Linked DNA regions of Homo sapiens: all the other regions are linked to region 3. Evidence: promoter capture Hi-C in human tissues and cell types (Jung and others, 2019). All regions are on one chromosome and are shown on one strand. The core of a region is centred on a gene start or on the middle of the fragment in contact, and the rest is flanking DNA. Distances in the headings are between cores, read along the strand shown. Region 1 holds the start of RHBDF1 (rhomboid 5 homolog 1). Region 2 holds the start of DECR2 (2,4-dienoyl-CoA reductase 2). Region 3 holds the start of LUC7L (LUC7 like).

Region 1 (3,675 bases), core at 334-2,833, 160 kb before region 3:
CTGTAGCTGGGAAGATCCTAGGGGAGGGCCTGATGGTCCCTGAAAGGCAGGGGAGACCTGGACGACTCCCCCTAAACCAAGAGCGCACCCTAGAAAGTCAGCTCCCCAAGGTGGGGACCGGCCAGCTCATGAGGGGTGCTGGTTGAGGGGCCTGCTTGTGCAACGGAGGCCACCCAGCCAGTGAAAGCTACTTGGAAGGGCTGGGAAAGGGTCTGAGGCCCCTTCAATCTGGCACCACCAGACTCCCATGCACTCCATTTGCCCCTGCCCCATTCTCAGGAAAAGGGGCCCGGCTTGCCCAGAATGACCCCTGGTGGCAGGGGGCTCCGCCTCAGGGACCCCTTGAGCCCCAGCCAGCTGCTTGGTCCCCAGCTTCTGCCCACCCTTGGGGTCGGGGCTAGGAGGTTGGGGTTAGCTCCACAGGGGTGAGGAGAACCGAGCCTGGGACTGCCCAGGCATCTAGCTGGGTCAAACCTGAAAAGCCAGTTTCATCCTTGAATCTTCTCCCGGTCTCCAACAGGAAGTCCCGTTGGCGGGTGGGAGTTCCCAGGATAGGAGAAGGGCCTCCAGACCTAGGCCCCACCCACCGGGACAGACACACACATTCACCATCTCAAGCGGCACACACAGAAGAAACTCTGGTCAGGACCACCTCGGTCGGAAGCAGGCCCTGGGGGGCCAGGGAAGATCCCCTGCCCATTCCCCGCCCAGCCCCACAAACATGCCCCCAGCATGACAGACAACCAGGCCCTCTGCCAATGCCCTGAGCATCTGGGGTCTGGCTGTCACCCCAGCCGGGAGAAGGCCTGTCCCCGTTGGCCTCTGCGCACAGAGTGAGAGTCTGTCTTCGGGAGTCGCTCCCAGCCCACCCTGGAGCTTCGAAGTGTACAGATGGGGGAGTCAGTGTCGTGGGGCAGAAGGCGGAGTCAGTCCCCCACCCCCAGCTCCACGGCTCCTGCTATTCCCATCGGTGAGGGCAGCCGGGACAGGGACCATCCCGCCCTGGGCTGGAGTTTCAGCTCGGAGACACCACCCGCCGGTCGTGGCCGGGAAGGAAAATGCAGCGGGGGGAGTTCAGAGGAACCTGGGGCACCCCCGGACTCTAGACTCCCGCTCCTGGGACCCTCAGCTGTTGGGCGGGGGCTGGAGCCGAGCTGTCCCGCCCGGCCAGGCCGCTGGGGCTGCTAATCCGGCCACGGGCTATTTTTGCGGCGCGCCGGGCTAGGAATCCGGGGCTGGGCCGCCTCCGCGGGCGACTCGGGAAACTCCAGGAAGAAAAGCCCGGCCGCCCCGGGGGGGCCTCGCCGCGACCCCTCCCCGGCCCCGGCCCCGGCCCCGACACGGCCCCGGCCGCTCTGAGCAGCTCCGGCCCCGGGTGCTGAGGACTCGCCCCGCCCTCCGGACGCAGCCCCGGAACCCGCCCGCCCCCGGAGCCCTGCGCTCCCGGCCGCGCTCACTCACTGCCGCCGCCGGGGGCTCTGGGGGGTCCTGAGGGCGCCGGGGAGGAGGCTGCCGCCGCTGGCCGGGAGGGCCCGCGCCGAGTCCCCGCCCGCCCGCCGGTCCGGCCCGCCCGGGAATGCCCTGGAGCGAGGGGCGTGCGCCCGGGGGCGGGCCCGGCCGGAGCGGGGCGGTCGCGCTGACTCAGAGCTCAGGAATGCGCGCCGCCCGCCTGCCCGGCCCAAGTCACCTCCTCCCGGAAGGCCGCCGGGCTCCCTTCTCCCCAGGGTCCGCCTGCGGGGACACCTGGGGCTGGGGTCTCCAGCGCCTCGGCCCGACGGAGGACCTGGTGGGAGCGGACCGCAGTGTCAGCGCTGGGCGGCTCCGCCTCTCCCTGGCTCCAGATTGAGGCTTGAGCTGTCCTGCCCTGATTTGTGCTGAGAAGAGGGTGAGGAGGGAGAGCAGGCACGGGGTAAAGGGCGGAGGATGGGTGTGTATCCCTGGCTCCCCTAAACCCGACCTCCTCCAGAGGCCCACGCTGACAAGTCCTGTATCCCACACTCACCCAATCCCACTAAGCACTCACATTCCCTCACACACATTCATGTGCACCGATCACTCACAATCATACACACACGTCCCCACATCCTTCCACTTCATGCGTTCATTCGCCTGCACATGCACGTGCTCACATGCACCCACCTACTCATGTACATCTTTCATGGGTACATACACGTGCACACACACACGTGTACACACCGATGCACACACTCAGTTCAGGACCACAGTCATTACCCCTCCCCCTGCCCTGTGCCCCTACCCCCAGAAGCCCCGCTCCACCAGCAGGCACTCAGGCCAGGCTGCACCGGCCCCACCCGAAGCCACTCAGCAGAGGCAGCGCAGTGTCTGGTGTCCACTCTGGGCTCTTCTCACTGTCTCAGAGCTCAGCGGCCACCCCGGGGTGGGCTCATATCCCTGCACAATCTGGGCTGGACTCAAAATGGCACTCTGCTTTCCGCTGGGGCTGCTGGTGAGAGTTTCCCAGCATTTCTCTCCTGACACTGGGTGGGCTGACCCTCCCAGGGTGGGGGACAGGGGTGCCAACAGCAGAGTACGGGCAGGGCTGTCCAGGAGCTCTGAGTGGTGGGTGGCCAAGGCTTCCTCTGGATAGAGGGTGCAGGGATCCCTTCGTCCCATGGGTCCCTAAGGACCCCTCTACAGGGTGCCCCCCCATGCCTCGGACAAATGTGTCTTCAGGCCCTGTGCTGGTCACAAGGTGCTGCTGCTTCAGTGCCATCCTCTGGGTCTGGGTGGCACCAGCCCTCTCCAAACTGAGCTGTTGCACTTGAGGGCCCGACGCAGACAATGGCCTGCTCCTTGGCTAGACAGAAAAGGGGAGAATTTGAACTAAAGGTGCTGGTACACTTACCGGTAGATCCCAGAGCCTGGGCAAGATTCCCCTGCCCATATCCTTGTCCATGCCACGGGATAGGGCGGTGCCTGCACATAATGGGTGCTCTCTGAACACAAGCAATATCAACACAATTCTCATGTAGAAGGAGACAATGGAAGCTTTGGAGGGGGTGGAGGGTAACTCCACCAGGGGATGACTGCCAGTGCATCACGGACACCGGGTGAGAGGGAGCCTGCCCCAGTGCCAACACTCAGTGCTCCGATAGCCTGCACGTGCCACCCCTCCCATGCCAGGCTCACAGCCAGAGACAGGACAGTCTCCATGCTTAGCATTATTGACCTGCCAGGGATAAGCAAGCCCTATCGGGCCTGGATGCCCAGACTAGGCTGGCAGGGCCAGAAGTGGTGTCCTCTCTGGAAAGCTGGGGACTGGGCTTGCCTCCAAAGCATGCCACAGCTGGGCATCTGGTGTCAGCAGGTCTCCTCCTGCAGTGGACTCTGTCAGACCCCACCTAGACCCGCTCCAAGACCCAGACACTCATCGCCAGCTGCCAGGAGCACCAGTCACAGCTGGCTCAGAGCTGAAACCCCCCGCACCCAGGAGTCACCTTCAGTGGGGAGCATGCCCCAGTCTGCCTCTGCAGGCAAATCCCCAGCTCAGAGCCTGTGTCCAGGAATCCCCAGGCTCTCAGCCCACCCTGGCCTCCTGAGTGAGGTCATCAGAAGGATGATCAGAGGGGGGTCGATACACGTGTGCTCAGTGTCAGGCCTCTGAGCCCAAGCCTGCACGTATACATCCAGATGAAGCAAGTGAAGAATCACAAA
Region 2 (3,602 bases), core at 524-3,023, 170 kb after region 3:
CAGGCTTGCTCCCCTAGACAGAGGGCAACGGGAGCAGCAGATGGTCCCTGGGATTCCTCAGGGTGCACATGAAGCCTGAGCCTCACATTGCTCCTGTCCTGGCACAGGAATGTCATCCACGCCAGCGACTCCGTGGAGGGGGCCCAGCGGGAGATCCAGCTGTGGTTCCAGAGCAGTGAGCTGGTGAGCTGGGCAGACGGGGGCCAGCACAGCAGCATCCACCCAGCCTGAGGCTCAAGCTGCCCTTACCACCCCATCCCCCACGCAGGACCAACTACCTCCGTCAGCAAGAACCCAAGCCCACATCCAAACCTGCCTGTCCCAAACCACTTACTTCCCTGTTCACCTCTGCCCCACCCCAGCCCAGAGGAGTTTGAGCCACCAACTTCAGTGCCTTTCTGTACCCCAAGCCAGCACAAGATTGGACCAATCCTTTTTGCACCAAAGTGCCGGACAACCTTTGTGGTGGGGGGGGGTCTTCACATTATCATAACCTCTCCTCTAAAGGGGAGGCATTAAAATTCACTGTGCCCAGCACATGGGTGGTACACTAATTATGACTTCCCCCAGCTCTGAGGTAGAAATGACGCCTTTATGCAAGTTGTAAGGAGTTGAACAGTAAAGAGGAAGTTTTGCACACCCAGTTCCATAACGTTGTTGGATGTATGAGCCAGGCAGGGGTCCAGAGACCACCAGCCTGCAATCCGGAGAACCCAAGCTAGGCGCGAGCCGGTGCTGTGATCCCGCCAAAGGAGAAGCTGCCTTCCCGGGGAAGGGGCAGAGAGGGGCCGGCGGGCTGAGGCCAACCAGCGCAGAAAGGGCCTGGCAGCCATTACTGTAGCGCTGGCGGCTCTGTCACGCCCCTGAAGCCGCTGGCCCGCGGGTGTGTTCAGCTCAGGAGCGGCCCTGCGTGTTTTTCCCCCGTGGCCGTCGCGGACCCCCGTCTTCCAACAGTGGTGCGGGCGGGGCGCCCCGTCCTGGGTTCGCGGCATAGCCCCGCCCGGGCCCCCACGCGGAACAGAAGTAACGGACCCTTTTTTTTTTGTTTTTGTTTTTGAAACGGAGTGTCGCTCTGTCGCCCAGGATAGAGTGCAGTGGCGCGATCTCGGCTCACTGCAACCTCCGCCTCCCGGGTTCAAGCGATTCTCCTGCCTCAGCCTCCCGAGTAGATGGAACTACAGGCACCCGCCACAATGCCCGGCTAATTTTTGTATTTTTAGTAAAGAGGGGGTTTCGCCATGTTGTCCAGGATGGTCTCGAACTCCTGACCTCGTGATCCGCCCGCCTCGGCCTCCCAAAGTGTTGGGATTACAGGCGTGAGCCACCGCGCCCGGCCCCGGACCCTTCTTTATTGGCCTCAAAACGGGTCATTTTGGGAAGCGGCGCGGGGCTGGCCGCGCTTCCCTGGGCCCCGGCCCTCCCCATGGTGTTTACGGGGAGGCGAACGGGGAGCCCAGAGGCTGCGAGCCTGGCCTGGACCCAGGAGCCAGGGGTATCCCACAAGTCCTGGAGGCTCTGAACGCGGCGCTGACGCCGAATACCTGTGAAAAAGACTCGGGGAGGAGACCCGCAGACCGCCGAGCTTCTGCCGCGGGAACCGCGCCCCCGGCCCCGCAATGCGCCTGCGCCTCGCGCGCCGACTTCCAGTCCCAGCAGGCCGCGGGCGGGGGCGGGGCCTCCGGGGAGAATTCGGGGGAGGGGCGGGGCCTCCGGGAAGCAATCAGGGCAGGGGCGGGGCGTCCGGGGAGTGGGGCGGGGCTCCCGGTTCCAGGCGAGTTCGCAGCTGCGCGCCGGGTCCTGGAGGCCGAGGCCGCTCCCGCCCGTTGTCCCCGCAGTCCCCGACGGGAGCGCCATGGCCCAGCCGCCGCCCGACGTGGAGGGGGACGACTGTCTCCCCGCGTACCGCCACCTCTTCTGCCCGGACCTGCTGCGGTGAGCGGGGCCTGGGAAGCGAGCGCAGCCTTGGTGCGGGGTCCGGTCCGCGGGCGCCGGCGCCCCCACGTGGTCCCCGAGGGCTCGCGTGTTAGGAAACCTGTCTTGCCTGGCTCCTTTCTTTCTTTTTTCTTTCTTTTTTTTTTTTTGAGACGGAATCTCGCTGTGTCGCCCAGGCTGGAGTGCAGTGGCACGATCTCCGCTCACTGCAAACTCTGCCTCCCGGGTTCAAGCGATTCTCCTGCCTCAGCCCGGCTAATTTTTATTTTTAGTAGAGAGGGGGTGTCACCGTGTTGGTCAGGCTCTTTTCGAACTCCTGACCTCAGGTGATCCACCCGCCTCGGCTTCCCAAAGTGCTGGGATTTACAGGCGTGAGCCACCGCGCCCGGCCCAACCTGGCCTCTTTCTTAACAGAAAATTTTAGGTTGAAATCATTTTTCCGGAAGACCCAGAAGGCCCAGGAATGCCAGGTTTTGCCCAGCAGCTCTTCATTTTCCTGCAAACGCCTTGGTGTTCACAAGAGAAGGCAGCCCGGGCAAAGGTCGATCCTCCCCGGTCACCTGCCCTCACTCGGCTAATGGGCGGATCCTTTTTTTTTTTTCCTTTTCTTTTTTTCAATTGGCAACATTTTCAAGTTTCTATTAAAATTTTGATCTTTTGCCAGGAGCAGTGGCTCACGCCTGTAATCCCAGCTCTTTGGGAGGCCGAAGCGGGTAGATCACCAGAGGTCAGGAGTTCGAGACCAGCCTGGCCAACATGGTGAAACCCCGTCTCTGCTAAAAATACAAAAAATTAGCCGGGTGTGGTGGCGCACACCTGTAATCCCAACTACTTGGGAGGCTGAGGCAGGAGAATCACTTGAACTCGGGAGGTGGAGGTTGCAGTGAGCCGAGATCGCACCATTGCACTGGGCAACAAGAGTGAAACTCCATCTCAAAAAAAGAAAACAAGTTTTAAATTATGTTCTCCAAGGACAGGTATTGACAATTCTCTCTGAGTGTTCTGCAGGAAAAAAAAAAAGTTTTTTTTCGAAACGGAGTCTCATTCTGGGTTGAAGCAATTCTCCTGCCTCAGCCTCCCAATTCTCCTGCTTCAGCCTCAGTGCGCCCAAGTGGGACTATAGGCACACAATACCACGCTGGGCTAATTGTATTTCTAGTAGAGGTGAGTGTCACCATGTTGGTCAGGCTGGTCTGGAACTCCTGACCTCAGATGATCCACCTGCCTCGGCCTCCCAAAGTGCTGGGATGACAGGAGTGAGACGCTGCACCTGGCCCAAAATTAATCTTTAATAATTAAGAATAGGAAAGGCAACTTGGAGATCAGCAAAAGTTTGCCATCCATCTGGTACAGTTTGTGCCAGTCATACCGATCAGTACACATTTAATGCGTACAAGAAAATCTCTAATAAATAAAAAAGCCATATTATCCCGACGTAGCTTGCTGAATCTCAGGTATCATATTTGATATTAGTGCCATGCAGGGCTTAGGAGAGAGGAAATTATAACCTCTATCTTGTTTAAGCCAGGGTATTTTTCTCTCTTGTATCTACTTCTGTCCATTTCTGTCAAAAGACACAGAAATACCCTTTCCCCCACTGCACTTTGCAAGTTTGTGTCAGCACAAGTTCAGGACCAGCCTGAGCAACAAAACGATACCCCTCTCTAGAA
Region 3 (3,349 bases), core at 500-2,999:
TAGAGCTGGTAATTTCCACCAACAAAAGCTACTTATTAATCTAATCTTTTTGTTATGAACAAATGCAGAGGCAGTATTTTGCCCAAAATTGAATGAAGAAGAAAGCTTTCAAACTCTATCGAAGACTGTTAAATAATCTAGATCTATTCTTCCTACGTCCCTTTCGTTCCCACCCTTAAAAAAGAGAGTTGCTACCTGGGAGTCACTTTTAACAAGACAATACCAAAAAAAGCAAAAAAGGAACTAGGTTAGTCAATACACACTGTGAGCTCCAACACATACTGTACCCATCTGCATTCTTCAAGACCTCAGCTGCAGAATTTTATGCCCGCTGTTGAAAAGTGTTAAAGGAAAAGTTTTCTTGCCCACACCTGCAGTAAGGAAGTCGGGGGAATGATACATAAAAGTAAAGGTAAAGTGGTATGTGACAAATTTTAAAGCTAGTCTGTGTATACAACACAGAGCTGTGCAACGCTAGAGGAGGAATATATTTTAGGATTTGCAAGCATCCAGGATTAATGTAGTGTCTTTTTATTGAAAATGTTTTCTTTCTAAACTACACTTTTAAAGTTACTTGTGAAAAAAAGCAAACACTTTTTTGTTATAACAGCTTAGAAATTGGTTGTGACTCACGGCTCGATGAACATGAGGCTTTCTGCAACTCCCTTGCAGATTGATGTAGGCAGGCAAAGATACACTGAACCTTTATAAATAAAATAGAGGGGCCACAATTGTTCAGTTTGTATGAAATAAAAATATGGGAAGCAATTCAAAAGCAACTCAATATACAAAGAAAGCTAAAAAGCACTTATTCACCTATGAAATAAAGTGCAAATAATCTGCACAGCCCTGAGAATGTGCCAGTGTGAACTTACAACTTCATTACTCAGCAGAAAAGAAAACACAAACCACAGCAGGTATATAGTTTTGCAAAGATGCAACCGCTTTCTCCTGTGACAACCATCATGATCTTGAGCTCCTCCCTACACAGTACAACCTACCTAACGACTGTCAAGCGCTGGCTACACAGAGGCTCTCCTGTGTGCTGGGGGGAAGGGGGCAGCTGGAAAAGTACTTGGCAGAAACCCACGTTAGAAAAGCTCAGTTTACGGTTCCCCTTGCAATGGTACAGAACCAGAGCGGGCCAGGTTTTCGAGGCCCATCCGGCTCCCTCGGGTGTAGCTTCTTCCCAAGGAGCCTCGGAAGAGTTCTGCCACCCGGCTGCCAGCGACCTGGAGCCCACGCTGATTCCAGCCCTCCGCCGACTCCACAGTTCGCGGAGGGGCACGGAGCCGCGGCGCCCGCCGGGGAGGAAGTAGCAGGACGGTACATAGGAAGGAGGCTGAAGCCCCATCCATGGCGCAGACTCCGAGAGAGGAGCCCGACCTGGACCCACGGCCGCCTCAGAGACGCACCGGCTTAGACAAAGGCCCGGCGCCTGCGGTCGGAGCGCGGGGGAGGAGGAGCGATGCCCCGCGCAGGCGCAGGCGCAGACGATCGCGGCCCCCGCCTCAGGCCGCCCGGCGGCCTCGCCTCACTCCCACCCCAGACCCTCGCCTGGTTGGCCGCTCTGACTCACCGTCCCGAGCCGTGCCCATGAGCTGGTCCAGCAGGGCCCGCATCTGCGCCTGGGCGGACATGGTAGCCGGCGGAGGCGACGGGGTCGGCCGCGACGACTTCTCTCAGGCAGGCGGTGGCAGCGGCGTCGACAAACGATGGTCGCGTCGGCCTCGAGCCCACTCGGCTCTTTCCCGCCGCGGGGGACGCCGGGAGGAAGTACGACGGCGCCGGCGCACGCCCTGCTGGGAAATGTAGTTTCTGGGGTGGGTGCTTAGGGAGGCTGAGGCTCTGAGTGGTCGCAAGTTGTCCAACGGCGGAACCAAAATCCCAACCCTGATTTTACTCTAGACCCCCAGGACCTCAAACGAGTCTCTACGGAGGGTAAACTACAATAAAATGAAATACAGTCAATCAAAAACAAGATGAATCCGTGCTTTTTCTAAGCTAGCCATGAAACCGTGAGCATATTATTTAGCTCCCCGACGCTCGTTTTTTTAAATCTGTGAAATGAGGGTTCTAAAGGTGCCCCTCATATGATTTTTGTGAAAGTTAAATAAAGCATGGAATTTTATTTATTTATTTATTTATTTATTTAGAGCGAGGGTCTTGCTCCGTCGCCCAGGCTGGAATGCAGTGGCGCGATTACCGCTCACTGCAGCCTCGACCTCCCCGGCTCCTTATCCTCCCGCCTCAGCCCGGCAAAGTATTGGGATTACTGGTGTGAACCACCACGTTTGGCCATCAGTCATGGCATTAATATTAGGTTCTATGATTACAACCTCGTGGTCGTCCTTTTGTGAGCTCATGGTCTACTGTCCCAGGGACTAAAGAAAAGGCATATGTAAGCAGTTATTTTATGTGATAATAGAATTATAGCATGCACTTATGTGTGCATAGTCTGGCATATACTTCTATTATATTAAACCTCTATTATTTATTTATTTATTTTTGAGACGGAGTTTCGCCCAGGCTAGAGTGCAATGGCGCGATCTTGGCTCTCCGCAACCTCCGCCTCCTGGGTTCAAGCGATTCTCCTGCCTCAACCTCCCAAAGTGCTGGGATTACAGGCATGAGCCACCACGCCCGGTCTTTATTTTTTATTTGTTTATTTTTTTTTTGAGACGGAGTCTTGCTCTGTCACCCAGGCTGGAATGCTGTGGCGCGATCTCGGCTCACTGTAAGCTCCGCCTCCCGGGTTGAAGCGATTCTCCTGCCTCAGTCTCCCCAGTAGCTGGAATTTCAGGCGCCCGCCACCCCCTCCGGCTAATTTTTGAATGTTAAGTAGAGACGGGGTTTCACCATGCTGGCCAGGCTGGTCTCAAAGTCTTGACCTCAAGTAGCCAGCCACCATGCCCAGCTGATTTTTGTATTTTCGGTAGACACGGTGTTGTACCGTATTGGCCAGGCTGGTCTTGAACTTCTGACCTTGTGATCTGCCTGCCTCGGCCTCCCAAAGTGCTGAGATTACAGGCGTGAGCCACCGCGCCCTGCCGTATTTTATTTATTTTTGAGACGGAGTCTCCCTCTGTCGCCCAGCCTGGAGTGCAGTGGCGCGATCTCGGCTTCCTGCATCCTCTGACTCCTGGGTTCAAGCGATTCTCTTGTCTCAGTCTCCCCAGTAGCTGGGATTACAGGCACCCGCCATCATTCCCGACTAACTTTTTTTTTGTACTTTTGCAGAGACGGGGTTCCGCCATGTTGGCCAGGCTGGTCTTAAACTCCTAACCTCAGGTGATCCGCCCACCTCAGCCTCCCAAAGTCCTCGGATTACAGCTGTGAGCCAGAACGC

The links. Contacts are between HindIII fragments. The study calls those that stand out against the background at their distance.
Region 1: a fragment that was not itself captured here is called in contact with the fragment with the promoter of LUC7L in region 3 in 1 of the 25 tissues and cell types used here (spleen).
Region 2: a contact is called between the fragment with the promoter of DECR2 here and the fragment with the promoter of LUC7L in region 3, in 1 of the 25 tissues and cell types used here (dorsolateral prefrontal cortex).

Annotation. Positions count from the first base shown.
Region 1 is chr16:71,052-74,726 of GRCh38, forward strand. It overlaps RHBDF1 (rhomboid 5 homolog 1), which reads right to left and starts at 1,580. Exons shown (of 18, transcript NM_022450.5): 1 at 1,462-1,580. It overlaps LOC124903617 (a long non-coding RNA gene), which reads left to right and starts at 1,776. Exons shown (of 2, transcript XR_007064932.1): 1 at 1,776-1,885; 2 at 3,329-3,675. RefSeq lists enhancers at 1-157, 1,794-2,611, 2,612-3,428, 3,429-3,675 and silencers at 1,150-1,333, 1,580-1,639. The HindIII fragment of the contact is 4,515 bases long and covers 1-3,675 here.
Region 2 is chr16:400,112-403,713 of GRCh38, forward strand. DECR2 (2,4-dienoyl-CoA reductase 2) reads left to right here and starts at 1,774. Exons shown (of 9, transcript NM_020664.4): 1 at 1,774-1,932. The coding sequence starts at 1,853. NME4 (NME/NM23 nucleoside diphosphate kinase 4) reads left to right here. Exons shown (of 5, transcript NM_005009.3): 5 at 108-643. The coding sequence ends at 231. RefSeq lists enhancers at 597-906, 754-1,339. The HindIII fragment of the contact is 11,138 bases long and covers 541-3,602 here.
Region 3 is chr16:227,700-231,048 of GRCh38, forward strand. It overlaps LUC7L (LUC7 like), which reads right to left and starts at 1,750. Exons shown (of 10, transcript NM_201412.3): 1 at 1,580-1,750. The coding sequence starts at 1,640. RefSeq lists a silencer at 1,364-1,593 and an enhancer at 1,426-2,122. The HindIII fragment of the contact is 19,974 bases long and covers 1-3,349 here.